Regions from separate parts of the Homo sapiens genome. Here regions 1, 2, 3, 5, 6 and 7 are each linked to region 4. Evidence: promoter capture Hi-C in 16 types of primary human blood cells and fetal thymus (Javierre and others, 2016). All regions are on one chromosome and are shown on one strand. Each heading gives the region's core, a stretch centred on a gene start or on the middle of the fragment in contact. The rest is flanking DNA. Distances are from core to core; before and after follow the strand shown. Region 1 overlaps HMGN3 (high mobility group nucleosomal binding domain 3). Region 2 overlaps PHIP (PHIP subunit of CUL4-Ring ligase complex). Region 3 overlaps LOC124901351 (a long non-coding RNA gene). Region 4 holds the start of LCA5 (lebercilin LCA5). Region 5 overlaps PHIP (PHIP subunit of CUL4-Ring ligase complex). Region 6 overlaps TTK (TTK protein kinase). Region 7 overlaps LINC01621 (long intergenic non-protein coding RNA 1621).

Region 1 (4,050 bases), core at 802-3,301, 330 kb before region 4:
CTTCATAATGATTAAAAAAAAAAACCACCACACTACTATCTGATTCTAGTCACTGCAAACATGCAGAATTTTCTACTGTACCCTTAACTCTCACTGTTTCAATCTGCCCCTTTACTGACAGTGTGCTGGGTGGGGTGCCTCTGGAGGTTGAGACATTAACAGTTGAGCGAGAGATGTGGATCTGCAATAACATTACAGGCAATAAAAAGAGACATTAAGAACGTGCTATCACCGGCTGAAGGATTGAGAAATTTCTTTAAAGACACTGATTCAATCAGTGGGAGGTATTTATGGAAAGTACCTCTTCAGCTTTAGTTTCACCATTTTCAGATGGTGCAGTACCTTCCTTTCCAGCTTCCTGCTTTTCCTCCTTCTTCCCTTTAGCACCTCTGCTAATCTTTGCTCCAGGTTCTTTCTAACAGAGGATCAAAGCACAGTGAAAGAGAATGTTAGACACGGTGTGATGATGGCTAAAATCAATCAGCCTCTGTCCAAACACAAGGTGAAGTACAACCGTTACCATCATGGTGGCCTTTATGGAGACACGGGAGCCTAATTTTGCTGGGTTTCAACTGAGTTACACTGCACAAATATGAGTCTCTGTGAAAATGTAGTAACAGGTTGCACAGAAAGTCCAGTGTACTTTCTCTTCTGTGGAAAACACAATGATTCCTCTCCTGGATTTGTTCAGTGGACCTCCCCTCCAGTAAGGGGAGAAGTGGTTCTGCCATGGAGAGAGCAGCTGCAGGACTTGGGGAAGGAGGAAGCAGAGCTGGGGAAGAACCCAGCCAGGGGGTGGCTCTGTGGCTGCTTTCCAATGAACCCCTCACGTGGAGACATGTGGCTTGCATGACTAGAAAGCTGGGAAGGTGCAGGGAAATGAAGCCCAGATGAAGAAAAGTTCCTAATTTTAAGACCAAACAACAAAAGTGAGTTCTGTTTCTGAAATCACCTACTCATGCCACTATACACATAAGTTTTAAACAATTCACATGGGACAATACCAAAGGGCAGAGTGCAGAAAAGCCATTTTGGGTAAGTTCCCTAAGAATTCTGTACCTCAGTTTCCTCATCTGCAAAACAGGATATTTGTATCTACTTCAACAGAGTTGATGTGAAGGTCATATGAGTAAAGCAATCAACCTTATCTGCCATACTATAAGGGCCTTATAAATGCCAATATTACCTGCTGGCATTATTATATTATTATTATTAGACCTCAGACTGGCCTGCGAAATCCAGTTAGATGAAGTCAGAAGCCCCTTCCCAAATTCCTCCCATAGTGGGGCAGTGCTGCCAGGGCCCAAACTCATCCCCGCTGTGTGCCGCATGAACCGCATGTTCACGAGGCTGCTGCCAAACCCCCTTCGGACATGAGGCTTCTCAGAGCAACATCTCTGACTTCCCGTGCCTCACTGACCAAATGGAAAACACACTCCTATTAACGCAGAAAACTGTGCTTTATGCCTTTAAGCAAGCCCGTAACAGTGGTAATGGTTTCAGTTTGGATCATTAAATACGGCCTTTCTTTGAATGATTCTGAGGTAGGGAATTATAATTTATTCATTGTTTAAAAAGCCAAAAGTGGGAAACAGCACTTCTTACCTTAGCAGATGTTTTTCTTGGTTTGGGTTCAGGTTTTGGTGGAGCAGGTTTCTGCAAAGATAATTTAAATTACACAAATACTGAAAAAAAAAAAAAACTATCAGCACCAAAAGAAACACAAAAGGACTAACAAAGACAACTATCCATTTTGACATGGCTTTGGTCATTAAAAAGTATTTCATCCTATTTTCAGCACCAGGTAACAGCATAAAGATCTCTGCATTTCATAACTATTTTCACCCTGGGTTCACAAGGGAACTGCAGGTGAGATTGAAAAGCCGACTCCTTATTCCCTGGTCCAGAATAGCTCTCCGGGAACAGGTCTAAGCTTCTATCTCCAATGTGTCTGCTCTTCCTTTTATCACAGCACAGCAGCAAGAGGAATGACTCAGGCCCATGGCCAAAGGACTCAATGAATTCAGTTGCACTGGCCTTCCTAACAGTCTAGAAATCACAGCACAATCACTAGCAAAGCCCAACTGGTAATGAAGACTGCTGCCTGTGAAGTATTTCAAAATCACTTCCAAATCCTTCCACTTCTAATGTAGATTTCGAGTTCTGTTGCCAAGCTTCTTCCTACTTTTATTCTCCCCAATGCCAGCTCAAGGTGAGAATCTCTTGTCTAACCAGATATGCTGGGCTCATTTGTGTCTAAAGGTTTTTATTGAGAACATCATTATAATGATAAAATGTCTACTGTTAGCTCCCAAAGTTTAAATTTTTCACAGATATTATTAGCCAAACAGTCCCCTAGGAAACTATTTTTCTCTTGCCTCATGTGGTCCTCCTCCAGTTCCCATGAGCAGCACCTGCACACCGTGTGACCATGGACCCTCTGCCACACAATGCTTCAGCCCTGGCCAGCTTCCCAGGGGCCTGAGACCAGGTGGCACATGCGGATAACTGGGGAAAGATAACCATTTTACACCAGGAGTTTTCTGTGGATATTTTAGGGCAAATATTTCTCTCATAGAACTAGAAAAAAGTGTACATCTCTCCTGGCACTAGAAGAATGGTTTTAAAATAGAAAACACTGGCCAGGGTCTCCCCCTATGGAGAAAAATACATGTTCCTCCCTAGTGCCTCTAGGTAATTCACGTTCACACTGAATCTGCCCCTTTTCATCAAGGGCATAAAGTGAAATTGTAGACAGTTTGATTTCAGAAGATTGGCTGTTAGAAATGACCTTTCAAATAAAAAAAGAAAATCGAGCTTGAAAAGTTAAGAAATGTTTTTATTAATCTTCTTATCACCCTAAATCTGCAGGCCAAATACAGCAGCTTTCATGGCTCTTACATTTTCAGAATTTAAAACATTTTGTCATCCTAAGCTTTGATATACTGTATTAATATACATGTTTTCTCCATTTACAGTAAACAATTTCCTTTTATATTATTTTCTGTAGGACAGACCTTTCCCTCTGACCCAGCATTCAAGTGTTTTGATAGGACCAGGAAATGAGGTTTTGTAGTCTGTAATCCTGCTGGCCTCTGAGGAGGCTCTGTTTCGGTAGCACAGGGAATGATCTCAGTGGAAGGTGCTTATATTGCTGGTTTCTGGTGCTCAGGAAAAGCTTTGTTTTAAACTTTGGTTTTCATTTGACTTACAAGGTCTGTTCCCTTAACTGCCTGGAGATTCACAACAGCAACCCCAGCTCTTAAGTCCTCCTAGTGACTGACACCTCTTCCTAATATGGTTTAGCTGTGTCCCCACTCAAATCTCATCTTGAATTGTAACTCCTACAACTCCCATGTGTCATGTGAGGAACCCAGTGGGAGGTGATTGAATTATGGGGGTGGGTCTTTCCTGCACTGTTCTCATGATTAGTGAATGAGTCTCATGAGATCTGATGGTTTTAATAACAGGAGTTTCCCCGCACAAGCGCTCTCTCTCTTTGCCTGCCACCATCCACGTAAGACATAATTTGCTCCTTTTGTCTTTCTCCATGATTGTGAGCCTTCCCCAGCCACATGGAACTGTAAGTCCAATTAAACCTTTTTCTTTTGTAAATTGTCCAGTCTTGGGTATGTCTTTATCAGCAGCGTGAAAATGGACTAATACAGTAAATTGGTACCAGAAGAGTGGGGCACTGCTGAAAGATAATGAAAATGTGGAAGTGACTTTAGAACTGGGTAACAGACAGAGGTTGGAACAGTTTGGAGCGCTCAGAAGAAGACAAGAAAATGTGGGAAAGTTTGGAACTTCCTAGAGACTTGCTGAATGACTGTGACCTTTCCTAAAGATTTGTTGAATGGCTTTAACTAAAATGCTTATAATGATATTGACAATGAAATCCAGGCAGAGGTGGTCTCAGATAGAGATGAGGAACTTGTTAAGAACTGGAGCAAAGGTGACTCTTGTTACGTTTTAGCAAAGAGACTGGCAACATTTTGCCCCTGGTCTAGAGATTTGTGGAACTTTGAATTTGAGAGAGATGATTTAGGG
Region 2 (3,754 bases), core at 726-3,225, 500 kb before region 4:
CTGTAATTGCCTTTCCCTAAGTCTGCAATATCCAATTCGACTCCTAAATTTACCAAGCTGTTACTTCTCTAGTAAATTTCCCTTACCATCTCCTACCACAAGGTTGGATTAGGTATCTTTATCTCCTATGGTATCTCAGTACCTTGTACACCTTCTGTCAAGGTTTTATCACATTATATCAATATTGTTTGTTTACCATCTGTGAACTCTCCAAGAACAAATACTACTTTCAATTCTATATCCCAACTGCTTAAAACAGTGGCTGGTTCATAAAACTCTGAAGTTCATTAAAGGAATGCATAAACTCATTTTCTTTATTATACCATATTAATTAGAATCAGAGAGACAATTTATGTTTCTGAAAAGGGGGGAAAACTCTGCTTTTTATATGGCGTTCCATGTACTTTTGAGTGCCTTAGTTGTGAAAATTCATTAACTCTGCTTTTCTCCGTTAAATGTCACTTAAGGAAATGATTTTAAAACCAAGTAAAAAACATTAAAAGGCTAAAAGAGAATTAGTGAACAAAATCTGACTTGGCAATTATGCTATTTCCCTCCTTGGGTTTTTCTCATTAAAATAATTGGGAAAGCACCCATTCTTAAAATACTGTCATACAAAATAATGATACATTTTCCTAATACAGAATTTCATTATCAATTACAATGATTTCCTTTTTAATTCTTGTATACCATTTATAAATAAGATTTTATTTGGATAAAAAATAAAAGATAAAATTTACTTAAATCTATAAGTAGCAGTAGGAAAAACCTAATGACTGCTTTCTATTTTGTTCAGTACTAATTATATGCATTATTTCATGTAATCCCACAAAAATCCTATGTGGTTGGTACTATTATCATCTACTCCCCTCTCTCTTTAGGTGATGAGAAAACTGGAGATTAAAGAGATGAGGTAATCTGTCAAAGTTTCACTAGTAGAAGTGGTAAAGCTGTGACTAAAAGCCCTCTGATGTCAAAGCTGATGCTTTTAACCACAGTACTGTATGCCTCCAGCTGTGCCTGTTCAGAAAGGACTCAAGAGAATCCCTTGGAAAAAGCTTTCAAATATATATACACAAATATCTTAGAAATAAATCTGCAAGGTCTTAAAATACCAATTATATAAAAAGGAAATACTGGTTGATCCATTACCAAATTGTTACCTCCAAAAATAATAACAGTATGTTCTCTCACAGGAGTGTTTCACTGGTCAATCATGATCTACTATCTTAAAGGCTGATTCTATCTATTTTCAAGACTGATTTCCATAGGACTAGTTAGCGTCTAGTCTGTGCCTAGTGAAATGCAAAAAACACTCAGCACCCACTTTATTAATGAGCAATATGAATAGTGAACATATGTGTACCCTACCACCACTTGAAGTGAAAATAATAAAAATACAAGAATTTTTCAAAAAAATAGTGCCCTCATATCTTCGTTATTTCTTATTGTAAGGTAACATTCTGAAATCTGTAACTCCAAACCACCAGTAAAAAATTACAAATGAGACTGAATTTAGCAAAACAAATTCTATCACATTCTTAAAAAATAAACATCTTTAGACTTTGGTAAGACCATATAAAATAGTACAGTGCTACTTTTCTTCTCTTAATTGATGTGCTTTCAACTAAAGAAATAACCAACAAGCAGCTTCCTCTTCGCATATTATTCTTGTTCTCTAAATCACATGCCCTTAAAAGAAAGAATCAAATGTCTAGAAAAGGATAGCAATTTTTTTCTGTACAGAGCTGGATAAATATTTTAGGCTTTGCAGGCCATATGTTCTCAGTCAAAACTACTCAACTCTGCTGTTGTAGTGCACAGGCAACCATAGACAATATATAAACAACTGAACATGCCTGTGTTTCAATAAAATTGCATTTATAAGAACAAGTGACAAACTGGGTTTGAGACGCAGGCAGCAGCATGCTGAACCCTGGTTCAAAAAGCTCTTCCAAGTCTGTACCTACCACACTCATGAGATAGCAAAAAGCACACTATTTCACTGCATTCTCCCTAAAAAAATTCCAGGAGATTATATGTCTAATTAATATCAAAACATGTAAAATGCTTCATAAAATATGATAAACAAATGCTTACAATCCCTATCATTTTTAAAGAAAGAATTCCTACAAGGTTCTTTACAATGGCATAACTTTATACTGACCTACTGGCACAATATAGTGCTCCTTTTTCATTATTTTAATTTATTACTGTTTTTGAAAGAATTCTTTCAAACATTAGAAAAATCAAATTTACTTAAGGTTTTTGAGAGGTGAATTTGAATATACCCATATTAAACTTGAATGGCTAAATTAATTTTCGATTACTATTTGAGAGCAAATTACTACTGTAGGTATGTCAGGCACTTCAGCAAATATAGAGATGCCTATTTTCCACTCTGAAAATAATACTTGATACAAGAGAACGTAAAAAGGGAAAATACTGATATAAGAAGTGATGTGCAAATGCCTGAGGTAGATTAGAGCCAAGGGAAAAGAAAAGTATAAAAATGCATTCCTACATCCTGCTATTTAGCTGTTTTACAGATGACTGGGTGTATGGATAGAGGAGAAGTAGTAGGTATAAATAGGTCTCAGTTTACAAGCAAATTTACTAAAAAGAGGAATCTATAATTGTCATAACTACGTAAAATTCACAGCTGCTCTCTTCAAAGACAGGAAAATTTCCATTTAACTTCCACTTCAAATTTTCTTATTTCAAAAGAAATTAAAAACCTTGTGAATGAATGCATACCTTCAGCCCACAGGGTAGTGTTTAATAATAAATATCATCATAATAGTGTAGTATTATGCTTAATGAATGTAGATGTTAAGGCACCTGAAAATCAAATATTTCCAAAAGTAATTTTCTCACTTAAAATAAAGCTCAAAAGCTTTGCTTTTCTCTATTCAACAGGTTACAAGAAACAATAACAAATAAACAAACCCAAAGAGGCTCTATAAACAAAACATCAGATATTTTGAAGAATGAACTGTTAAGAATAACAGGTAATAAGAGTATTAGATATGCTCAGAATTTTTTAGCTTTTTTAAAATCACTATTTTAAGGGAAATTTCTCATAGACAAGCAAGTGATTTTCTACAGATAATATAAAAAGGTATATTCAATAATCTCATACAATTATAAAAAGGCACATTTAATAATCTCTCAACATACTTAGATGTCCTTAGTTCAAAATTAAAATTATTTTATGCCATTTTGCAAAATGTCAAACTGTGTATTTGATATATGTTGAGAACCATACTTATTCATGATGTACAACCATATAATAACTGTGACTGTGCTGCAACATGTCATTTAGAAACTTTCTGAATTTGGATAAAGTCCAAATTTAACTAAACTCTTCTGTTAGAGTAAGTGAAACCACCTGAATTTCCGGTTTCCTATTAAAAGAAAAAAAAGCAAGGTTTTACTTCAAGTTCACCTATAAGCAATATTTCCTCAATTACATATATGAATATAAATAATACTTTAGCAATTACTTACAGTAAATATCCGTCTGCCAGTTCGATCAAAAGTTACACAGTACACAGATGACAAGTGTCCAAGAATTCGTTTATGCATTTTCATGTGCTGATACACTGCAGTTGGAACAAGTCGCTCAAGTCTGTATTTCCCATTCAGCTTCCTTGAAAACAGAGTATCCGCTACCAAGAAAAAGAAGGAAAATAAATGTAATCTGGAAATTAATTTTCTTACATGATCACCTTTTAAGAATTCACATACTCCA
Region 3 (4,202 bases), core at 457-2,956, 420 kb after region 4:
CCAGGGGCGCTAGGCAGTTGGTGGTTCAGGTGGCATTGCTGATGATCTTGAGGCTGTTGTCATACTTCTCATGGTTCACACCCATCGTGAACATGGGGGGATCAGCAGAGGGGGCAGAGATGATGACCCTTTTGGCTCCCCACTGCAAGTGAGCCCCAGCATTCTCCATGGTGGTGAAGATGCCAGTGGACTCCATGACATACTCAGTGCCAGCATCACCCCACTTGATTTTGGAGGGATCTGGCTCCTGGAAGATAGTGATGGGATTTCCATTGATGACAAGCTTCCCGTTCTCAGCCTTGACGGTGCCATGGAATTTACCATGGGTGGGATCATACTGGAACATGTAGACCATGTAGCTGAGGTCAATGAATGGGTCATTGATGGCGATAATATCTACTTTACCAGAATTACAAGCAGCCCTGATGACCAGGCGCCCAATACAACCAAATCCATTGACTCCAACCTTCACTTTCCCCATGGTGTCTCAGGGATGTGGTTGGCAATGCAAGAGAAGATGCAGCTGTCTGTCAAACAGGAGGAGCAGAGAGCCCTGCCTAAATTATTTCATGCACTCTCATAGCGTTGGTTACCATCTGCATTCATAACTCTCAGATATATGTGTTCAACCTAGATCTTCTTTCCAGCTCATGTATCTCATAGCTTGTGTGGTTCTCTTTAATGTAACTCAGGCATCTTGAAAATCAACATGTTAAAAACCTATCTCCCCCCCTCCCACAATCTGTTCTTCTTTCATATTTCCCTATTTCCACACATGCCAAAAGTGATCAATGACATTTTATAATATTCTCCCTTCCAACACACATCCAATTCATGACCACCTCCTATTAATTCTGCTTGCAAAATATATCTTGATTTTTTCCACTTCCCTCAGCTCTACTGCATATAATTTAACCGAAAATTCCATCATTTCTCTCCCACCTTAAACACTTCAAACTTCAATCACCTCATTTTTTTTTTTTTTTTTTTGAGACAGTCTTGCTCTGTCACCCAGACTGGAGTGCAGTGGCATGATCTTGGCTCACTGCGACCTCCGCCTCCCAGGTTCAAGTGATTCTCCTGTCTCAGCCTCTTGAGTAGCTGGGATTACAGGCACTCACCACCATGCCCGGCTAATTTTTGTATTTTTAGTAGAGATGGGGTTTCACCATGTTGGTCAGGCTGGTCTCGAACTCTTGACTTCGTAATTCGCCTGCCTTGGCCTCCCAAAGTGCTGGGATTATAGGCGTGAGTAACTGTGCCTGGCCTCAATCACCCCTTAACTGATCTCTCTGCATCCATTTATTTCCTCCTACAATTTATTCTCACACAGTACTTTGAGTATCTTTTAAAATTGCATGTCAGATGATGGCATTTCTCATCTTAAAATCTCTTAATATTTCTAGTACTCTCAGGAAGCTCCAAAGCCTCCACATCTAGAAGCTTAGAACATTGTAAATCTTTCTTCTTGCCTAATGAAAGTGTGATCTAGAATGCCTATCATTCCTTTACCACTTCTGCTTTTAGTATACAGGGAAGCTAATCAGGACCTCCTTCTGTTTCTCCAAAGAGCCAAGCTTCCCTTGACTCAGGGCTTTTGCACATAACTTTCTCCCTCTTGGAATACTCTTTCACAACCTCTGACTAGAGCTAATACCCACTTTACCTTAAATGTATGACCTAGGAAAACTCTGACTCCAATAACAAGGTTAGATCCCCGTTACACACATGTTCACGGTGTCTTGTACTTTTTTGTCATAGTATTTGTATCATTTAGCATTAGATATGATTACATATTACAGAAAAACCCAAAAGAAAAGTGCCTAAAGCAAAATAGAAGCTTTTTATTTTTCACTTCCTTAAAGGATGTCAGGATGTGGACAGACCAAAGTTAGTAGAGATAAAAGAGCCAGTAAAAGGTAAGCACGTAATAACAGACCTTTAAGATACATAAAGCAATATTTGACAGACTAAGAAAAAAATTAGACAAATTCAAGATTATTGTTATAGAATTTAATACCCCTATTATATAATTAATATAATAAATAGGCAAAGATAAATTATAATATAGAAGAGATGTATTACACTGTAAATCATTTGACCTGGTGGAGGCCAAATTCATGGGCATGAAACAATCACAAAGATCTATAATTTTATGGGCTGTTAAATAACTCTTAATAAATTTCAAATAGGAAATAATATAGAACTTGACCACAAGGGGATTAAATGGGAAATCAATAACAATGAAATATCTATAAAAAATTTTAAGGTCAAGCACAGTTGTTCACACCTGTAATCCCAACGTTTTGGGAGGCAGAGGCAGGAGGATCAATTGAGGCTGGAAGTTTGAGATCAGCCTGGGCACCTAGTGAGGCCCTGTCTCAACAACAGCAACAGAAAGTATCCAAACTAATTTATTGAGAGTTTTTAGCATGAAGGGCTGTTGAGTTTTGTCAAAGGCCTTTTCTGCATCTATTGAGATAATCATGTGGTTTTTGTCTTTGGTTCTGTTTATATATTGGATTACGTTTATTGACATGCGTATGTTGAACCAGCCTTGCATCCCAGGGATGAAGCCCACTTGATCATGGTGCATAAGCTTTTTGATGTGCTGCTGGATTCGGTTTGCCAGTATTTTATTGAGGATTTTTGCGTCGATGTTCATCAGGGATATTGGTCTAAAATTCTCTTTTTTTGTTGTGTCTCTGCCAGGCTTTGGTATCAGGATGATGCTGGCCTCATAAAATGAGTTACGAAGGATTCCCTCTTTTTCTATTGATTGGAATAGTTTCAGAAGGAATGGTAACAGCTCCTCCTTGTACCTCTGGTAGAATTTGGCTGTGAATCCATCTGATCCTGGACTTTTTTTGGTTGGTAAGCTATAAATTATTGCCTCAATTTCAGCTCCTGTTATTGGTCTATTCAGAGATTCAACTTCCTCCTGGTTTAGCCTTGGGAGAGTGTATATGTCGAGGAATTTATCCATTTCTTCTAGATTTTCTAGTTTATTTGCATAGAGGTGTTTATAGTATTCTCTGATGGTAGTTTGTATTTCTGTGGGATTGGTGGTGATATCCCCTTTATCATTTTTTATTGCATCTATTTGATTCTTCTCTCATTTCTTCTTTATTAGTCTTGCTAGCAGTCTATCAATTTTGTTGATCTTTTCAAAAAACCAGCTCCTGGATTCATTGATTTTTTGAAGGGTTTTTGTGTCTCTATCTCCTTCAGTTCTGCTCTGATCTTAGTTATTTCTTGCCTTCTGCTAGCTTTTGAATGTGTTTGCTCTTGCTTCTCTAGTTCTTTTAATTGTGATGTTAGGGTGTTAATTTTAGATCTTTCCTGCTGTCTTTTGTGGGCATTTAGTGCTATAAATTTCCCTCTCCACACTGCTTTAAATGTGTCCCAGAGATTCTGGTATGTTGTGTCTTTGTTCTCATTGGTTTCAAAGAACATCTTTATTTCTGCCTTCATTTTGTTATGTACCCAGTAGTCATTCAGGAGCAGGTTGTTCAGTTTCCATGTAGTTGCGTAGTTTTGAGTGAGTTTCTTAATGCTGATTTCTAGTTTGATTGCACTGTGGTCTGAGAGACAGTTTGTTATAATTTCTGTTCTTTTACATTTGCTGAGGAGCGCTTTACTTCCAACTATGTGGTCAATTTTGGAATAAGTGTGATGTGGTGCTGAGAAGAATGTATATTCTGTTGATTTGGGGTGGAGAGTTCCATAGATGTCTATTAGGTCCACTTGGTGCAGAGCTGAGTTCAGGTCCTGGATATCCTTGTTAACTTTCTGTCTCATTGATCTGTCTAATGTTGATAGTGGGGTGTTAAAGTCTCCCATTATTATTGTGTGGGAGTCTAAGTCTCTTTCTAGGTCTCTAAGGACTTGCTTTATGAATCTGGGTGCTCCTGTATTGGGTACATATATATTTAGGATAGTTAGCTCTTCTTTTTGAATTGATCCCTTTACCATTATGTAATGACCTTCTTTGTCTCTTTTGATCTTTGTTGGTTTAAAGTCTGTTTTATCAGAGACTAGGATTGCAACCCCTGCCTTTTTTGTTTTCCATTTCCTTGGTAGATCTTCCTCCATCCCTTTATTTTGAGCCTATGTGTGTCTCTGCACGTGAGATGGGTTTCCTGAATACAGCACACTGATGGGTCTTGACTCTTTATCCAATTTGCCAGTCTGTGTCTTTT
Region 4 (3,821 bases), core at 544-3,043:
TTGGGATGCCTATGGATAGGAAATTTATGTGGAAATACCAAAAATTAGCTACAAAAGTTTGACAGTAACTCAAAAGTTCCAGATCAGAAATAAAAAATTGGGAGAGTGTTAATAAAACACAAATAGTGTAAGCCAAAGGAGAGGAAGAACACAGCCAAGAACACAGAGTAAAAAATAGAAGACGGAAGACTGAAGACTGGATTATTGGGAAAAACAATAATGAAATATGGTGGGCCGAGGAAGAAGATCCCACAAAGGAGTTGAAGAATGACAGGCAGATGAAGAACCCAAGAGAAGGGTAGCATCTTTATTTAATGGGCTTCCATTGTGTCCTACAGAATTATAGTTCCACAATATGTGTAACGGAAGAGATGTGACTCACAAAAGAAGAAAAATCTCTTTTCCAAAGTCACAAACTACTTTTTGATATTTAAAATGATACTTTGTCAACTTAGAGAATCAAAACAAACTATTATTTCCTATAACTTATTTGGATAAACATACTAGCTAACATGGGAAATCACAAAGTGAAATATTTAAAATGGTAATATAGAATTTAAATGTGGAACAACTGGAAAAAAACATAGATTAAAATAACCATGCAAAAGAAAGAGGGAATGAGTAAAGAACTGGAAACATCGGTTTTACCATTCTAAAACACATATAGCCACTCCCTCTGCCAAAAACTAAATGATGACTTCTGATTGCAAAGATATCTCTAATGCAAGTTCTTAACGTGAAGATAAAGGAGGGGAATAAATATGTATGTGCCCAAGTATACTTTCCAAAGAACAAAGTGAACAAAAAAGGGGTTTATATCAGATGAACTGGACCAGGGCTCTTCACTGTTAAACACTATCCCACGGTCTATCTAACGTAAACATCACGTATCTGAGTACCGACTCCAACTCGAGTATGCCAAAAAGGCACTTTCTTTTTTCTTTTATTTCTAACCATCTTTACTCCTCTCATCCCATCCCTGAAGGATGTATAGAAGTATCACAGCCTGGACAAGTACGGCTTTCCACTCTAACCACAGTTTTAATAATAACACATCTATTATTATCCGAGAGCTACCAAAGCCTCCTTTTCCGTCTTGGCCCTTGGCCCTGCCCCTCCTCTCTAGTCTTGAGTCTCCACGGGCCTCCGGGGTTTTTGTTTTGTTTGTTTTAATAACAACCACTTCTCTAGATCCGCTTGCTCCCTTTCTTCTCTTCTCGGTCCCAGGAAGTAAATACCCTTTCCCAGCTCCTCTCCTCCTAACTTCCCAGTCCCCCCAGTGCCGGTCAACCTCCCTTCCTCGGGACCCTCTCAGAAGCCGAGCTCTTTACTCATTTTCCTAGGTCTTCCTTCTCCTCGCGGTCCCTACATCCTCCCCCATCCCTAATCCCTTCATCTTCCCTGCTTTAAGAACCACCCGCAGGCCCCCATCCACGAACGCCCCTTCACTAGCTACCAGACGCTTCAACCCAGCCTCACCTCGCACCTCCACCTCCCCCGCCGTCTCCACGCCCACTTCAAAGCCCACCTCCAACCCGCAGGCTCTTCAGCAGAGCCGATGCGGCGTCCCGCCTCCTTGCCTTCCCTCTTAGGACCAAACTCCCAGCTGGGGCCTCGGCGTCTGACCGCCAAAGAGCGGGTGCCTGGTTCCTGCGGAGGCTGCCGGGCGGGTGCCGAGGTTGCCGAGATGCGGGAGGTTTGAACACAAGGATGGGACAGAGGCGAGGATCGGGGCTCCTGGGTGGCAGCGGCGGTAACCTGGGCTCCAGGGTAACGGAGGCGGAGGCCTAGACTGCACTACGAAGAGACCGCAGCCAATCATGATGACTCTACCCGAGCTCCCATTGGCTTCTGTCTCCAGACGGCCCTTTTTATTGGCTTCAGTGGAACTGGAAGGCGGGACGGCGAGTGCGGGAGAAGGTCTCCATTGGCCGACCGCTCTAGCTGTAGCGGAGACCCCCAAGTAGGGAAATTGGGGCAAAACGCGGAGCGCTCCAGGCTCCTACGGGCTGTGCGGTGCCAGGGCTCGACTGCTGAGCGTCGTGGGCTCCGAGAGGGACGCGGGCGGAGGGCAAAGTGGGTTCATGATATGAATTGTAAAATTGGCGACTGCGTAATGTAAAACACTTAACAATTGCTTAGATTTCCTTTGGGAAATAACTTGCTTTTAAATTGTAAACAAATTACAAACAAACTGCTAGTGCTTCTGGATCTTCTTACCGAAATGGCTGATTCAGGAGGATGCGGGGTGAGTGCACTATTGTTCCTGCCTCGAGATCCTGGCTGTGAATCACCAACGAGCCGTGAGTTTGGCTTGAAAGTGATTTTTAGGTTTTGGAACGGGTTTGGGGTGGAATGGCATCTGAAATATTTGCACACAAGTTTTTTTTTTTTTTTTTTTTTTTTTTTTTTTTTTTTAAGGAACGTTTTGAGGAGCATGTCAGCCTATTGAGCGCTGATGTGTGACATATTTTCTCTTTTAGAAATGGCATTAATTGCGGGAGACAGGGAAGGTAAAAAAAAATCCTCTTTCGTGAGGGCTTTAAACTGCTCCGAGCCATCTGATTATCAAGGTGGTTTAACACTACTCTGGTGTTCTCACTATTGTTAATTTCTCACTGGCCTTTTTACCACCATTCTGTAGAGAATCTAATATTTGAAGGCAAATGCGTTTAATGAATCTTCTAACCATGAAGATTGGTAATTCCTGCTTCTCGCTCAACCTCGTTTTTCCACCTTTGCACTGTTTCAAAGCTTTCATTTTATCCTGTCAATACATTTTACTTCAAGTTACAGACTAACCCACCCAAACAATATTGTGATTAAATGTAATTTTCTGTATGCGAAATACATCTGTACAAGATGGCAGTCATCTGTTAGTGAAAATAAGATGAGTAATCCCTAAATTGCACGGAATTACTTTTCATCAATTCTTTAATCTGTCTCTGCTGACACTGTTAAAATAGCTCACTCGTTATTATGGACTCTGTTAGAATTAACATGTAAATGTATGGGTGGATTACTTATAAAGGAAGTTGCTAGGAAGAATCAGAAAACATACCGTATTTACGTGGACAAATGTCTGTCACAGGAGCGTCAGATCAGGATTGCTGAAGGAGAGCTGAGAATGAAACCACCATTTATTCAGCACTCAGAATGCTCCAGGCAGTGTAATCTCATTCCATCTTCATTCATGACTCCAGACAGGTATTGTTATTCATTGTTTATACTTGAGAAAGCAGATTCAGAGAAGTTAAAGTATCTACCACAAGGTACGAAAGTAGTAAGTAGTAATGCCAGAGTACAAGCCTAGGTCTGCTTCCAAATTTCGTGGTTTCGGATTTAGTGCCTTCATTGTGTTTCACCTACAGGTTAAGAAGTTGTTGGTAAGCAAGAAAATATTTAAGACGCTGGGAGAATCCAAAAAATTGTCTAGTTGTGTGTAACATAGTCTCAGGATTCTTACAGTGTGCAATTTTATTCACCCCCTCATATTCAAAATAACAGTATCAGTTTGACCTTGAAAAAAGACCAAAAAATGTATAAATTTACAGAAGTAAAAACTAGTTTATTGAATTACCATTTTAAAAGGTTACCCCAAAATATGAGAAAGCAGTTTTAAAAGTTTTATGACATTACATGGTTTTATATATTATTTTTGATAGGGCTAGAATTTTCTAAGATACCATTTGACATTTTATTTCAGTACCACACAGGATTCTGCTTTTCAGAAATAAAGGAAACAAAGTTATCAAAACCACATTTATATTTCTGCCACTTGAAATTATAGTTAACAGAAATCAGACTCTTGTTTTTAAAGA
Region 5 (3,859 bases), core at 794-3,293, 480 kb before region 4:
ATACTGTAACAGCTTGAAATAATGCATTGTACCACTATGCAGGCAACTATTCTGGCAAGAAGACTGATGAATTATTTCTCCCCAACACCATCCTGTTCATTACTTTATAGCGATAATAAAACAAAATATATACCATGGTGAACTCTAGCAAAACACAGACACTAACCTATGACTATGCAAGTTGAGTCATTTTGGTCAGTCTAGCTTCTCTGCAGTGCTTTCAAAAAATATATGTAAATACAATTTTTAAAAGTAGGCAAAATGGGCAATCCACTACAGGTGTTTCTTAAAATAAAGCAAAGATTTTCCTGAAAATCACAATGGAAGAGAGAGAGAAAAAAATTATCTTAAACTCTAAAAATAAAATAGTCTTTCAGAAAGGTACATCAATCACCTGCTTGGCAATTAATTCTGTTACCTAAATGAATCAATTACATTTCTATGCTTGGATGCAAAACCCAAGGTATTTTTGCCATACGTATATATAGGGTTCTGTACCATCTGTTGTCTCCGACATCCACTACGGATCTCAGAATGTATCTCCTGTGAATAAGGGAAGATAAATGTTCCTCTCTCCTTGTCAGCAGTATTTACTAATCTGACCATCAACGACGTGGCCTAAAATATTATATTTGATTTTATAAATATTTGGTTCCCTTTTACAAAAAATGACTAACACCAATTTTCTTGAGTAGCCAAGTGTTATTATTAATAAATTCAGTTTACTGGGAATAAAGCATAGCATAATGGAGTCAAACAGTCTGGGTTGAATCCTGGCTTCACTTCTCACTGCATGTGTGAACTTGGTCAAGTTACCAAAATCTTTCCATGCTTCAGTCTCCTCTGTAAAATAAGCATAATAGTTCCTACCTATAGAACATTTAAGGTTTTAAAAGAGTAAATAAATAGAAAATGCTTAGAACAGTGTCTGGCATACAGGAATTACTCACAAAGCAAATGTTATTTACCATCAATCATTCTTACACTTTCATTACCTACCACAGGCCTGACTGACAATGTACTGAAAGAACAAGCATAACGTGTTCTCCTTATTATGTGGATCTATAGTTTTTCAAAGACAGGATAAACTTTTCCTAAATGGGAAAACTCCTATAATATTTTATCTTTCCCTTCTTGCAGGAATCCTATTATACCACCTTAGAATACTTTTCTAAGTACAAATATACCCTCGTCTCTCAAATTTTTTTGTTGTTTTAATGGTTGTTTATTATAGCAAGATTATATATTGAAATTATTTAAACAGGACAATCTTATGTTTTAAAAAAAATCATAGATGATTACCCACCACGCAGATATCACATACGTTATCTCTGAAAAGTAAGTCAGAGCAAACAATTCAGAATACATCAGAGAGTCAAAAACATGTAAAACATAGAAGAAAGGATAACGAAGCAGATAAAGTGTTTAAGTCCCATAGGAAAGGAGAGAGAAAGGAACACAGAGGTTATTTTAAGATAATGACTGAGAATTTTTCAATGTCAATAAAAGACATTTCCAGAATCTAAGCAAGACAAATTTTTAAAAAATTAACATCAAGACATATCATACTCAAACTGCAGAAAACCAGAAAGAGAAAAAATCTTAAAAACAATTAGAGAAAAAGGGATTGCCTTCAAAGTAGCAAGTTAGATAGTAGATTTAAACCCAAGTACATCAATGATTATATGTAAATGACTAAATGTTCCAGATAAAACACAGATTATCATATTGTATTTTTAAAAGCCACTTTTATATTTTTAAAAGACAAGAAATAAAAGGAAACAAAAAGTTGAAAGCAAAATTATATATATATATATATATATATATATATATATAAAAATGCCAAACAAAAGTCATATAAACTTACGATCTGTATAATAAGTATCCAGAAAAGGAAGAATTAAGTAAGATTTGAACAGGTGGAAGAAAGAAGAGTAACATTCCTGGCTAGGCAGGAACATGAGAGTGGAAAAGAAGCTATGATTGAACTTTGAAGGTCTCTGAAAATTAGGAGTACACTTAGAGAAAGTACAACACTATTAAAATATCTTAACCTCTTTATACTATCTTCAGCAGAAGAGTGACACAACAAAGGTAGAACTGAATAAGGTTACTATTACAGTGTTACACACTATACTGGGAGGGAGAGAGAGATAGAAGACACCATAGGCAAGAAGATTAGTTTGGATGATGCTGTATTAATCCGGGTAAGGCAAGGGCCTGGTAGTAGCAGATGTGAAAGGCATGAACCTAGGAGGCATCTCAAGAAGACATACTTGCATCAGTACTCCCTCTTTGAAACTTTAGCCAAAAAAAGAAAAAAAAAAAAAAGTACTGTGCTCTTAAAAAGATAACTACTTTTGTCTCCTACCATTATAACTAATCTGAATTATATATTGATTCTACTAACTCGACCTAATAATATATACCTTAATATGGAACTTTCGTAAAAATAAAATTCCAATGAGCTAATTGGCCTACATAAGGTGCAATGTGCACAATCCCTCATTATACATGACTTTTTCACTATTAAAACTACTACTAAGAAAAAAAATCTATTTTTTTCTTTTTGAATGCAGATGTACATAATATGAAGTTCTCTAATACCACAGTAACTAAAAAACCTTTTCATTTTCAAAAGCTCTTTACCAAGAGGCTATTAACTACTAGTGAACTCAAACAACTCACCAATGCTGGGTGGGCTACCATAGTTAACTGGTGACTCAGGTGGTCTTCCACAGTGCAACGCAGCCAGAGCAGATCCTTTCCACACAACATGCTTGCAGCCTATTAAACACATGTATTTTTATGCATACAAAGAACACAAAAACAAAAGTGAGATAAATAATGTCTAAATCCTATGAGAAAATTTTCATACTTTTATTTGTGCGTAGTAAAGACTGTCTTCCAGCTCCTAATAAAGTTTGTACTCCAGGAACACTTTGAGGAATTTCTTGTTCAAGAAGAGGTCCTAGTCGATGACATATTTGCAGCAAGTGATCAGGTGCTAAGTGTCTGTAATACTTCACCTATTATGTAAAAGACAAATATAGTAGGTTTCAGTTTATCATTTTAATTTTCAAAATCTTTGAGCAACAATAAAAAAATTCATCCAAGTATAAAATATTTTGTTTTGCGTCTTTGATGTAAAGTAAATCTCCAGAATAATTAAGAATTAAGAACTGATAGTTTGTTATTAAAAAATTTAAGAACACTTAACATCTATGCTGAATTTCATAATTTACCAAAAACCTTACAGAGAGAAAGGCAAAATTCCAACTGCTGCTTTAAATATCTTTCAATCATAAAATAAAGCTACCCACTATAAAAAGTTTGAGCACTTTTGGAACAACTTCAAAATACTGCTTAATTTATACCGGCATTTGAAACCATGACATGAAATGCTAATATTTTTATTAGTCTTTCAGTAAATAAACAATATTCACTATCTAAATAAAATTATATTGGAAAAAAATACTATTGTATTACTTCATAATTAGCTATCAAGTTAGAAAAAAATTTCCACAGTAGTATCTAGTTCAGCTATTCTCAAAGTATGTTTTGGGAACCCCTGGAGGTCCCTCAGATAAAACTTATGAATAACACTATATTAGTTGTTTTTCACTTTTTCTCATGAATGCACGGTGGAGGTTTCCACAGGACACATAACATGTGATGTCTTAACAGACTGAATGCAGAAGCAGATAGGAAAATGTCTCCTCTATTAAGCCAGATATTAAAGATTCACAGAAATGTAAAACAATGCCACGCTTCTCACAAATTTGTTTTGTTTGGGAATAATTATTATAAAAATGTTACTTATATTAAAATAAGATTAGTTTATTAGTATTATTTAATA
Region 6 (3,704 bases), core at 785-3,284, 470 kb after region 4:
TGGTTCTTCATAGTCTGGATTTTTTTGGGTAGGACCAAGACAATCTCTTCCTAAGACATTTTTAACCTGGCCATTCCTTAGTCTTTTCTCATTTTCCAGGGCCTTTGGATACACCCTCAGTCTGCCCTCTGGCCAGGTGTTTCCATTCTCCCACTGCCTTGTTTCTGCTACAACTGTGATCCAATTTACTGCCAGTGATAAACATATTAACACTATTGGAAGAATCCCCATGATGGTTTCCATAGCAGGGATTGGTCACTGGAGAGTATTCCCCAGGATTGAGCCTGGAGAAAATAATTATATGACTCAGAAATAATTTGAGAACCCTGAATTGTTACCCATTCAGATGATTTCTGAGTCCTAGTAATTGTCTTCTCCAATATGTCCTTTGCTCTATCAGGTTACTTTTTAGAACTATTATCCCTTTCTTCTCTAGAAAAATGGATTCCTCCTTGCTTGTTAGAGAAAATTTGGCAAGGCTTCTTTCTCTCCATTCTGCTTGAAAATTTCTTGAGGTATTGTGGCCTCTCAATAACAACCATAAATTTTACATGTTTAGAACATGTAAATATTGAAACTCTTAAATTGAGTTATCTGTAAAAAAGACGAACTTTATCTATACCACTTTATCTGCAATGTGGTAGTAATGCACAGTGATGCAATGTGGTCAAATGCATTGCACAGTAATGCAGTGTGGTCAAATTATGATTATTTTGAGCACAGTTGATGGCTTGGCTGTCAGGAAATAATGCAGCATCCCTGAAGTCCTATGCAGAGTCTGGTGTGTGAGTATTTTTATAGGGATGGAGGACATTTCAGTTTTTACCAGATTCTTAAAGAAATCTCTGATCTCAATACTAAGCTATCTGATTAATTAAGCTTCTTAAGCCTTTCTCTCTTTTCTTGTGCTAAAATACACAATACATGAAATTCTACCACTACTTAGTAAATGTAGATGTAAGCACTATCAAAGATATTTTTAAAAATTTATAAACTACCAGAAGCTAGAGATCATCTCTTAAGCATTTTTATACGCTAAGTACCAAGTGCATAGCATAGCTCAATGGCTCCCATAAATGTTGATAATATTCTGTAAGATATGTGATGTATACATTTAATATTTATATGTCAAATGCTAGGGGTAAGTTTACCAATTTTTTTGGTAATCTGTCCATACTCAGAAAGGTAATTATGATAGTTCCTCAGTTATTCTGCATTCTTTTTCAGGCTGGTATAGCTGAGTGTGACAGCTAAAGATTAATCTGTATTTATTATGTTTTTCCCCGAAAATCCTTTTGATGGAAGATGCTCTTTAACAAAAGATGTCATCCTTCCCTTAACTAAATGTCATTATGAATGATACTTATTATAGCATGTTGTAAGAGACTGATGCTCTTGGCACTTTTGTAACATCTAGAATGCCCTCCTGTTTCTAACTGTTGTGATTGGCCTTTGCTGTCCCCTGTTGGTAACTGCTTTGTTACACTTCTGTTACTTCTGAAAGTGGACAGTGGTGATAAACTAATGCAAAATTACGTCAGCTACATATTGCAAGGAAACTATTTGGTATGCATTGTTATCAGAAGAGAGTTGGTTATCTGCATAAAAAGTGAGAGATTGCTTACTTGCCTATGAAATAAAATACATGAGCCTTGGAATAAATATTTTTGCTTAAGTCTTTTTGATTTTTTTTTCTAGGTCCTGATGAATACGTATCTGGGTGGTCTGGGTGGTGGGCATTTTACTGCCTAAAAATGACAATTATCTTTTGCTTTGTTAGGTAATGTCAAAAAAAGTAAACAACTTCTTCAAAAAGCTGTAGAACGTGGAGCAGTACCACTAGAAATGCTGGAAATTGCCCTGCGGAATTTAAACCTCCAAAAAAAGCAGCTGCTTTCAGAGGAGGAAAAGAAGAATTTATCAGGTAACTATTAAGGTATACTAATACTTTCTGTGGTAGGTAGTACTTCAAATAAAGATTCGGGATAATAATTTATAGAAAAATATTATTTATGTAGAATGGTTAAAATCTAAGATTAAATTGTAAAGGAGGTAAGACTGAGAAGTAAAAAAGTCTCTACAACCCCATGCAAATTTGTCTTTTTTGCTAACTAAACTTTCGTTAACACATGAAAAACAACTCTAAGCAAGAGAATTTTTTTTTTTTTGCTTTTGGAAATAGAGAATGTGCTTTTACCCTGGGGAAATAGTTATATAATTTAAGAGAATTTGAAGAAGTAGTTAGATAATTATCTTGGTATCATCTTCATGTCTGCATATCTTACTTGGGGACAAGTATTTCCTATGAATTGACTTTTAAAATATTCTTATTTGTAAGATCACTTTTTTGTACTTGTCTTATTTCTTATAAATTTAATCATAGTTTCAAAATTTTTACAGCATCTACGGTATTAACTGCCCAAGAATCATTTTCCGGTTCACTTGGGCATTTACAGAATAGGAACAACAGTTGTGATTCCAGAGGACAGACTACTAAAGCCAGGTTTTTATATGGGTAAGGAAACGGAAACAGTTTTTAAATGTTCATCTTCTATGTAAGTACATCTGTGTTTTTTAATGTAATTACATGTATCTGCATATATGTTTTCATGTGTGTGATAATGTTTAGCAGTAGAGTAGAAATACATATTAATATTGTTCTTTGAAAAATTGGGGGTATTTTCTTTCTGTTTAGAGAGAACATGCCACCACAAGATGCAGAAATAGGTTACCGGAATTCATTGAGACAAACTAACAAAACTAAACAGGTAAGTTACTTTCAATCTGCTTGATTAAGGTGGTGATAGTCTTTATTTCCTAGTTGGTTATTTAATCTTTCAAAATATTTTTAGTCATGCCCATTTGGAAGAGTCCCAGTTAACCTTCTAAATAGCCCAGATTGTGATGTGAAGACAGATGATTCAGTTGTACCTTGTTTTATGAAAAGGTATGTTGAGTTTTAATTTTTAAAATTTGTTGTCCGTATGGGAAGATTAATGGCAGAATGGTCTTAAAGTCTTTTACTGAGTAATAGTAATTATGATTAAATTTTTATTCAGTTTTAGAAGATAATCTCTAAATGTTGTCAGGAACAAAGGAATGAGTGGAGAAAATAACTTTGTTTTGCTTTTTCACTCATTAAAAATATTCATTAAAGGAGCTTTAAAAGGAAAAAATATTAAGTCAACATTAAGCTTAAAAGACTGATATTTGAGGATTTGTCACTTACGGGTAGGCTGTCTGCTAAGAATCTCTTCCTGTTTTGTTTGAGAGTCTCCATAACGGGTAGAAGGAGGTCTGGGAACAAATATTTGCTCCAGATAGTTCAAGGGGAGAATCGCTGTCAGTGGGATAGATGATTATTCTTTTGCTTGAGTCTAGTGCTTCAAGAAGTGGGACAGGTTAGGTACAGATGAATTACTGTTCATCACATCCAGTGTGTTCTCCTTCCCTCAATTTGCTTGTTTATTCCCTGTTAAGAAATGGGAATGTAGCCTGTAGCTCAGCTAAAGGAGAGTTATTTTGGCCTATTCTTAATTCTGACCAACATTTGTAATATTTATATTGGAAAAGGCTCCTTACAGTCCAGAGAATCATTTTGCAAATAAACTTTAGAAATACGATTGTTTTTCATTACTATCTTTTATAATTACATTTCTATTATATTTAGACTTGACTAAATATTGACATTAAAAGAACATTTT
Region 7 (4,254 bases), core at 1,745-4,244, 270 kb after region 4:
AAGAAAAGGTAGTTACTTATTGTAACAGGAAGCAAGGAGGGCCTCAGATTTGTCAGTGTTGTTCATGACAACCACACACTTTCAGAAAGTTTCAGTGGGATTCACACCTTACTTTGCACCACCACACTCCACGGGGCTTGGATGCAATTGTGCTGTATGTAAATGTGTATTGTGTATTCAACTATTCCTGGAATTCTATTTTCAATCCTGATCTTAATTAGAGGGATACTTCTTTACCACGACAAAGTCATGGTCAGAAGAGAAGCTCAACATTGTATTGAGGTCACAGAAATAGAATTCCATTATTGTGCCTAGAGCAAGCTGAGCCACATGGGTGGGAAATTTTAGACTTCAGGATTGAGGGGCCAACAGAAAATATTCAAAAATATGCAATGAATACCTTTCCACAGAATAAGACAATGCCATACATGGCCCAACTTGATCTGGTGTTTTCTCTATGTTATTAGGGTTTTCTGCAAAAGCAAACAAGCAAAAAACAGTGGTTCCATTGTTAACTATATTTGGGAAATGCTGAACTAAACAGGGTAAAACAGGTGTATCTACTTCAGGACCTCTCAGAGTTGTTGACACGGTGCCACAAATTGTGGCTCTCCAAAAGGGGACATTATATTCAGTGTTCCCCAAACATATTTGACCACAGAATACAAAATGGAATATGGTGAGACTGATGTGCAGAATCCACTTTGGGAAAGGCTGCTCAGGCCCTTCATTTTACAGCTAAATAAACTGAGGACCTGTGAAATGAAGGAATGTGTCCAAGCTTGCTCCATTAGCCAGGATTCCTCGGGAAACAAATGGAAGCATCAAGAGAGTTTGAAATTTAAAAAAAATGATTAATGTAGGCAGGATTAGGGAAGCCAACAAGATATAGTGAGACACCCAGGTGGTGGCTCTTGCCACCCCAACCCTAAAGGGGAAAGAGAAGGAAGCTTGTTACTGGAGCTCAGCTGAGAGCTGGAGAAACGGAGGGGCTGCCTGTCAGAACTGTCATGGGGTAGGGAAGAGGGGGATAAATACATGACCTCAGCCTGTCTCTCCTCCTGTCCTCTCCTTTCCCACTGGTGCTGCCCATTGGCCAAATCCATCTGGAAGCCAGAGGGCGGAAGCCTGGTGATGCAGTTTGTAGAGGTCAGCCTCCCAGGCACAGAGCTGAGCAGAGAAGGGTGAGCACATATCTGTGGGGCAGGTGGGGAATAAACAGCACAATTACATAGCTAGTATTTTGCCTTTTTCATTTTTTAAAAAAAGTTTACCTCATATTTTATAAACTTATGTAAGTTGGCTTAATAAAATTTAATGCAATATAAAACAAAAAATGCTAAAAACATAAAGCAATGGTTTTCAAGATGTGGTCTCAAAGTGTGATTTCCAGGGGTTCCCAAGACCCTTCAGATCTGCAAGGTCAATTTGTAATAATACTATGATGTTACCTCGTGTTTTCCTTTCACTCTTTCACAAGCAACCCGTGGGTTTTCCCATGCTGAGTGATGATGTTATTGACTGCTAACGGAATGTGTGCCTGTGCATTCTCATGATTTAAAATTCATCCCATTTTAATTTCTAATGTAGTAGATGATAAACATTACTCAAATAAACACAGTTTCTTTGGGTCCTCAATTATTTTTGATGTAAAGAAACCCTGAGACCAAAATGTGAAAGAACCACTGATGTAAAGGTAGCCAAAGGACAGATGTGTCCAGGTGAGAGGTGAAGCCAGCTGGACTTCCTGGGTCGAATGGGGACTTGGAGAACTTTTCTATCTAGAGGATTGTAAATGCACCAATCAGCACTCTGTAAAAATGCACCAATCAGTGCTCTGTATCTAGCTAAAAGATTGTAAATACACCAATCAGTGCTCTCTATCTAGCTAAAGGATTGTAAATACACCAATCAGCACTCTGTAAAAACGCACCAATCAGCACTCCATGTCTAGCTAAAGGATTGTAAATGCACCAGTCAGCACTTTGTAAAATGGACCAATCAGCACTCTGCAAAATGGACCAATCGGCACCCTGTAAAATGGACCAATCAGCAGGACATGGGCGGGGCCAAATAAGGGAATAAAAGCTGGCCACCCAAGCCAGCAGAGGTAACCCGCTCCGGTCCCCTTCCATGCTGTGGAGGCTTTGTTCTTTTGCTCTTTCCAATAAATCTTGCTGCTGCTCACTCTTTGGGTCTGCACTACCTTTAAGAGCTATAACACTCACTGCAAAGGTCTGCGATTTCACTCCTGAAGTCAGCGAGACCACGAACCCACTGGAATGGAGAAACTCTGGACACATCTGAACATCTGAAGGAACAAACTCCAGATACACCATCTTTAAGAACTGTAACACTCACCACGAGGGTCCAAGGCTTCATTCTTGAAGTCAGCGAGACCAAGAACCCACTGGAAGGAATACATTCAGGACATACAGGTACTTGAAAGGAACTATTCTTCATGCTGGGCACCAAATCTTCTAGTTTATCTAACAGTAAAGTCGATAGGAAACATAAGGGTTAGATGGTAAGTCATCTCTAGAGCCTGAGATGTGACTTGGGTAAGTTTTCTAACAACAAAGTATAAGAAGCCCTTGTGTGGAGTTCATGTATAATGATCTACTTATTTAAAAACGATATATGGGATACTGGATAATAAAACAAAGTATCTTTATTGCAAGAGTGGTGCATCAATTTCCTATTGCTGCATAATAAATAATCACACATTTGATGGCCTAAAAACCATACCCATTTGTTATCTCACAGTTTTTGTGGGTCAGGAATCTGGGCATGTCATAACTGGGTTCTCTGCTCAGGGTCTCACAGGGCTGAAATCAAGGTGGATTGCATTCTCATCTGGAGGATGCAATGGAAATGCTAGGATCTGCTTCTAAGCTCCTGCAGGTTGTTGGCAGAATTCATGTCTTTATGACTGTAGAATTAATGGCAGCTTGCTTCTTCAAAGCCAGCAACAGAAATAAGAGTCTTTACTGCTTCAGGTCTCGAACTTCAGGGAGGGCCTGGACCCTCTTTTAAAAAGCTCACTGATTTGGCCAGGCCCACTGAGGGTAAATGCTCTTTTGTTTAACTAAAAGTCACTTGATTAGGGATCTTAATTATACCTGAAAAAAGTCCCTTCGACTTTGCCATAAATATAATTACAGGAGTGGTATTTCCTTACTTTTGTTGTATCTTATGGTTAAAAGCAAGTTATGATTTCCACCCACATTCATGGCAAGGGGATTAAGAGCATGACTCATTAGGGGTCACCCTATGGTGTATCTGTCAGAGGTGGGGAACAGATTCAACCATAATCAGAAGGGTTTTAATACAAAGAGTTTTAATACAAAGGCAGCACAAGTACATGACTAAACTCCTGAGTGAAGACCTTAGAAGTAATATTCTTTTGGGCAAGATTCCCCTTGTGTGAACAACATTCCAGACTCTCAATCAAAACACTACAGTCAAAATGAGAACACAGAAATATAGAAGCATTGCTACCTTGGACAAATGAGGCAACGACAAAGATGATGTAAAAGGTGAATCAGAATCAAAATAAAGCCGCACCAGGATCCTACAATTCTGCTACTAATTGGTTTGGTGAATTTGGCACCTCTAATCATCATTGGCAAACACTAATCATGCTGTAAAAGCTAATTAGGATTAAGGAGCATTATCCGGGAGGCCAAGGGGAAGTGTATGAGGTTTTAAAGGCCCTAATATATGTCTTTGAATTTGTTAGACTGATATTTTAGTATTTTCCAAAGCTCTCTTCCTGAAAACTGTTGAGAAAAAAAGCTGATAGGATTTTTAAATGAATATCCTACAGATGAGGGGGTATTGAAGGAATTTTCTAGGAATAAACTAGTCTAACTTGGAGGTGATAATTTCCTTCTGTAAAGATGGAGGAGGCCACTCTCAATGCCCATGAAGCAGAAACAATACTTGTAGAATTTATCAGAGGAGCTCATTCATCTAGATGATAAAGGTTACTATTTTGGGGAGAGGGGAACAACTTCAGTGGCTCTCTGTGCTCTGTACACAGTCTGCTCTCAAAACTGTTGATTGAAGATGAGGATGAAGATAGTGAAGATGAAGAAAATGATAATCCTCAGAGAGTTCAAAACCCTACCTCTAAATAGCTGTCTTTGCTAATAATGCCTTGTTACTAACCAGGGCCATGTGACATGAGATACACGACTGGCCTCCAGCTGAGGAAGGTGAGAGAATAGAGAGGAGAGGGGACGCTGCCAT

Evidence for each region. Contacts are between HindIII fragments. The CHiCAGO score rates a contact against its expected background, and 5 or more counts as called.
Region 1: a fragment that was not itself captured here is called in contact with the fragment with the promoter of LCA5 in region 4 in 1 of 17 cell types (M0 macrophages); the score reaches 5.1 in M0 macrophages.
Region 2: a fragment that was not itself captured here is called in contact with the fragment with the promoter of LCA5 in region 4 in 1 of 17 cell types (megakaryocytes); the score reaches 7.3 in megakaryocytes.
Region 3: a contact is called between a fragment that was not itself captured here and the fragment with the promoter of LCA5 in region 4, in 1 of 17 cell types (fetal thymus). The highest score is 5.6, in fetal thymus.
Region 5: a contact is called between a fragment that was not itself captured here and the fragment with the promoter of LCA5 in region 4, in 4 of 17 cell types (megakaryocytes, erythroblasts, naive B cells and 1 more). The highest score is 10.8, in megakaryocytes.
Region 6: a fragment that was not itself captured here is called in contact with the fragment with the promoter of LCA5 in region 4 in 1 of 17 cell types (total B cells); the score reaches 5.4 in total B cells.
Region 7: a fragment that was not itself captured here is called in contact with the fragment with the promoter of LCA5 in region 4 in 1 of 17 cell types (monocytes); the score reaches 7.9 in monocytes.

The regions. Positions count from the first base shown.
Region 1 is chr6:79,201,975-79,206,024 of GRCh38, forward strand. HMGN3 (high mobility group nucleosomal binding domain 3) reads right to left here. Exons shown (of 7, transcript NM_001201363.2): 4 at 1,606-1,656; 5 at 302-415; 6 at 89-181. Among named protein-coding and RNA genes, the nearest start is that of HMGN3-AS1, 30 kb to the right of the region's middle. The HindIII fragment of the contact is 241 bases long and covers 1,932-2,172 here.
Region 2 is chr6:79,039,333-79,043,086 of GRCh38, forward strand. It overlaps PHIP (PHIP subunit of CUL4-Ring ligase complex), which reads right to left. Exons shown (of 40, transcript NM_017934.7): 7 at 3,511-3,671. The region is part of intron 1 of LOC124901346 (a long non-coding RNA gene); the gene reads left to right. Among named protein-coding and RNA genes, the nearest start is that of PHIP, 37 kb to the right of the region's middle. The HindIII fragment of the contact is 1,838 bases long and covers 1,057-2,894 here.
Region 3 is chr6:79,953,531-79,957,732 of GRCh38, forward strand. All of the region lies in intron 1 of LOC124901351 (a long non-coding RNA gene), which reads left to right. It also overlaps the pseudogene GAPDHP63. Among named protein-coding and RNA genes, the nearest start is that of ELOVL4, 8.1 kb to the left of the region's middle. The HindIII fragment of the contact is 263 bases long and covers 1,576-1,838 here.
Region 4 is chr6:79,535,637-79,539,457 of GRCh38, forward strand. It overlaps LCA5 (lebercilin LCA5), which reads right to left and starts at 1,794. Exons shown (of 8, transcript NM_001122769.3): 1 at 1,529-1,794. It also overlaps a transcript of SH3BGRL2 not described here. RefSeq lists enhancers at 1,690-2,263, 2,258-2,307, 2,838-3,411. The HindIII fragment of the contact is 3,782 bases long and covers 1-2,752 here.
Region 5 is chr6:79,057,790-79,061,648 of GRCh38, forward strand. It overlaps PHIP (PHIP subunit of CUL4-Ring ligase complex), which reads right to left. Exons shown (of 40, transcript NM_017934.7): 5 at 2,879-3,029; 6 at 2,689-2,787. All of the region lies in intron 1 of LOC124901346 (a long non-coding RNA gene), which reads left to right. Among named protein-coding and RNA genes, the nearest start is that of PHIP, 19 kb to the right of the region's middle. The HindIII fragment of the contact is 5,266 bases long and covers 1-3,859 here.
Region 6 is chr6:80,009,034-80,012,737 of GRCh38, forward strand. TTK (TTK protein kinase) reads left to right here. Exons shown (of 22, transcript NM_003318.5): 5 at 1,781-1,924; 6 at 2,401-2,515; 7 at 2,696-2,768; 8 at 2,853-2,947. Among named protein-coding and RNA genes, the nearest start is that of TTK, 6.2 kb to the left of the region's middle. The HindIII fragment of the contact is 2,315 bases long and covers 878-3,192 here.
Region 7 is chr6:79,804,853-79,809,106 of GRCh38, forward strand. It overlaps LINC01621 (long intergenic non-protein coding RNA 1621), which reads right to left. Exons shown (of 5, transcript NR_131786.1): 3 at 2,362-2,489; 4 at 1,044-1,196. Among named protein-coding and RNA genes, the nearest start is that of LINC01621, 5.3 kb to the right of the region's middle. RefSeq lists an enhancer at 1,620-2,819. The HindIII fragment of the contact is 4,092 bases long and covers 949-4,254 here.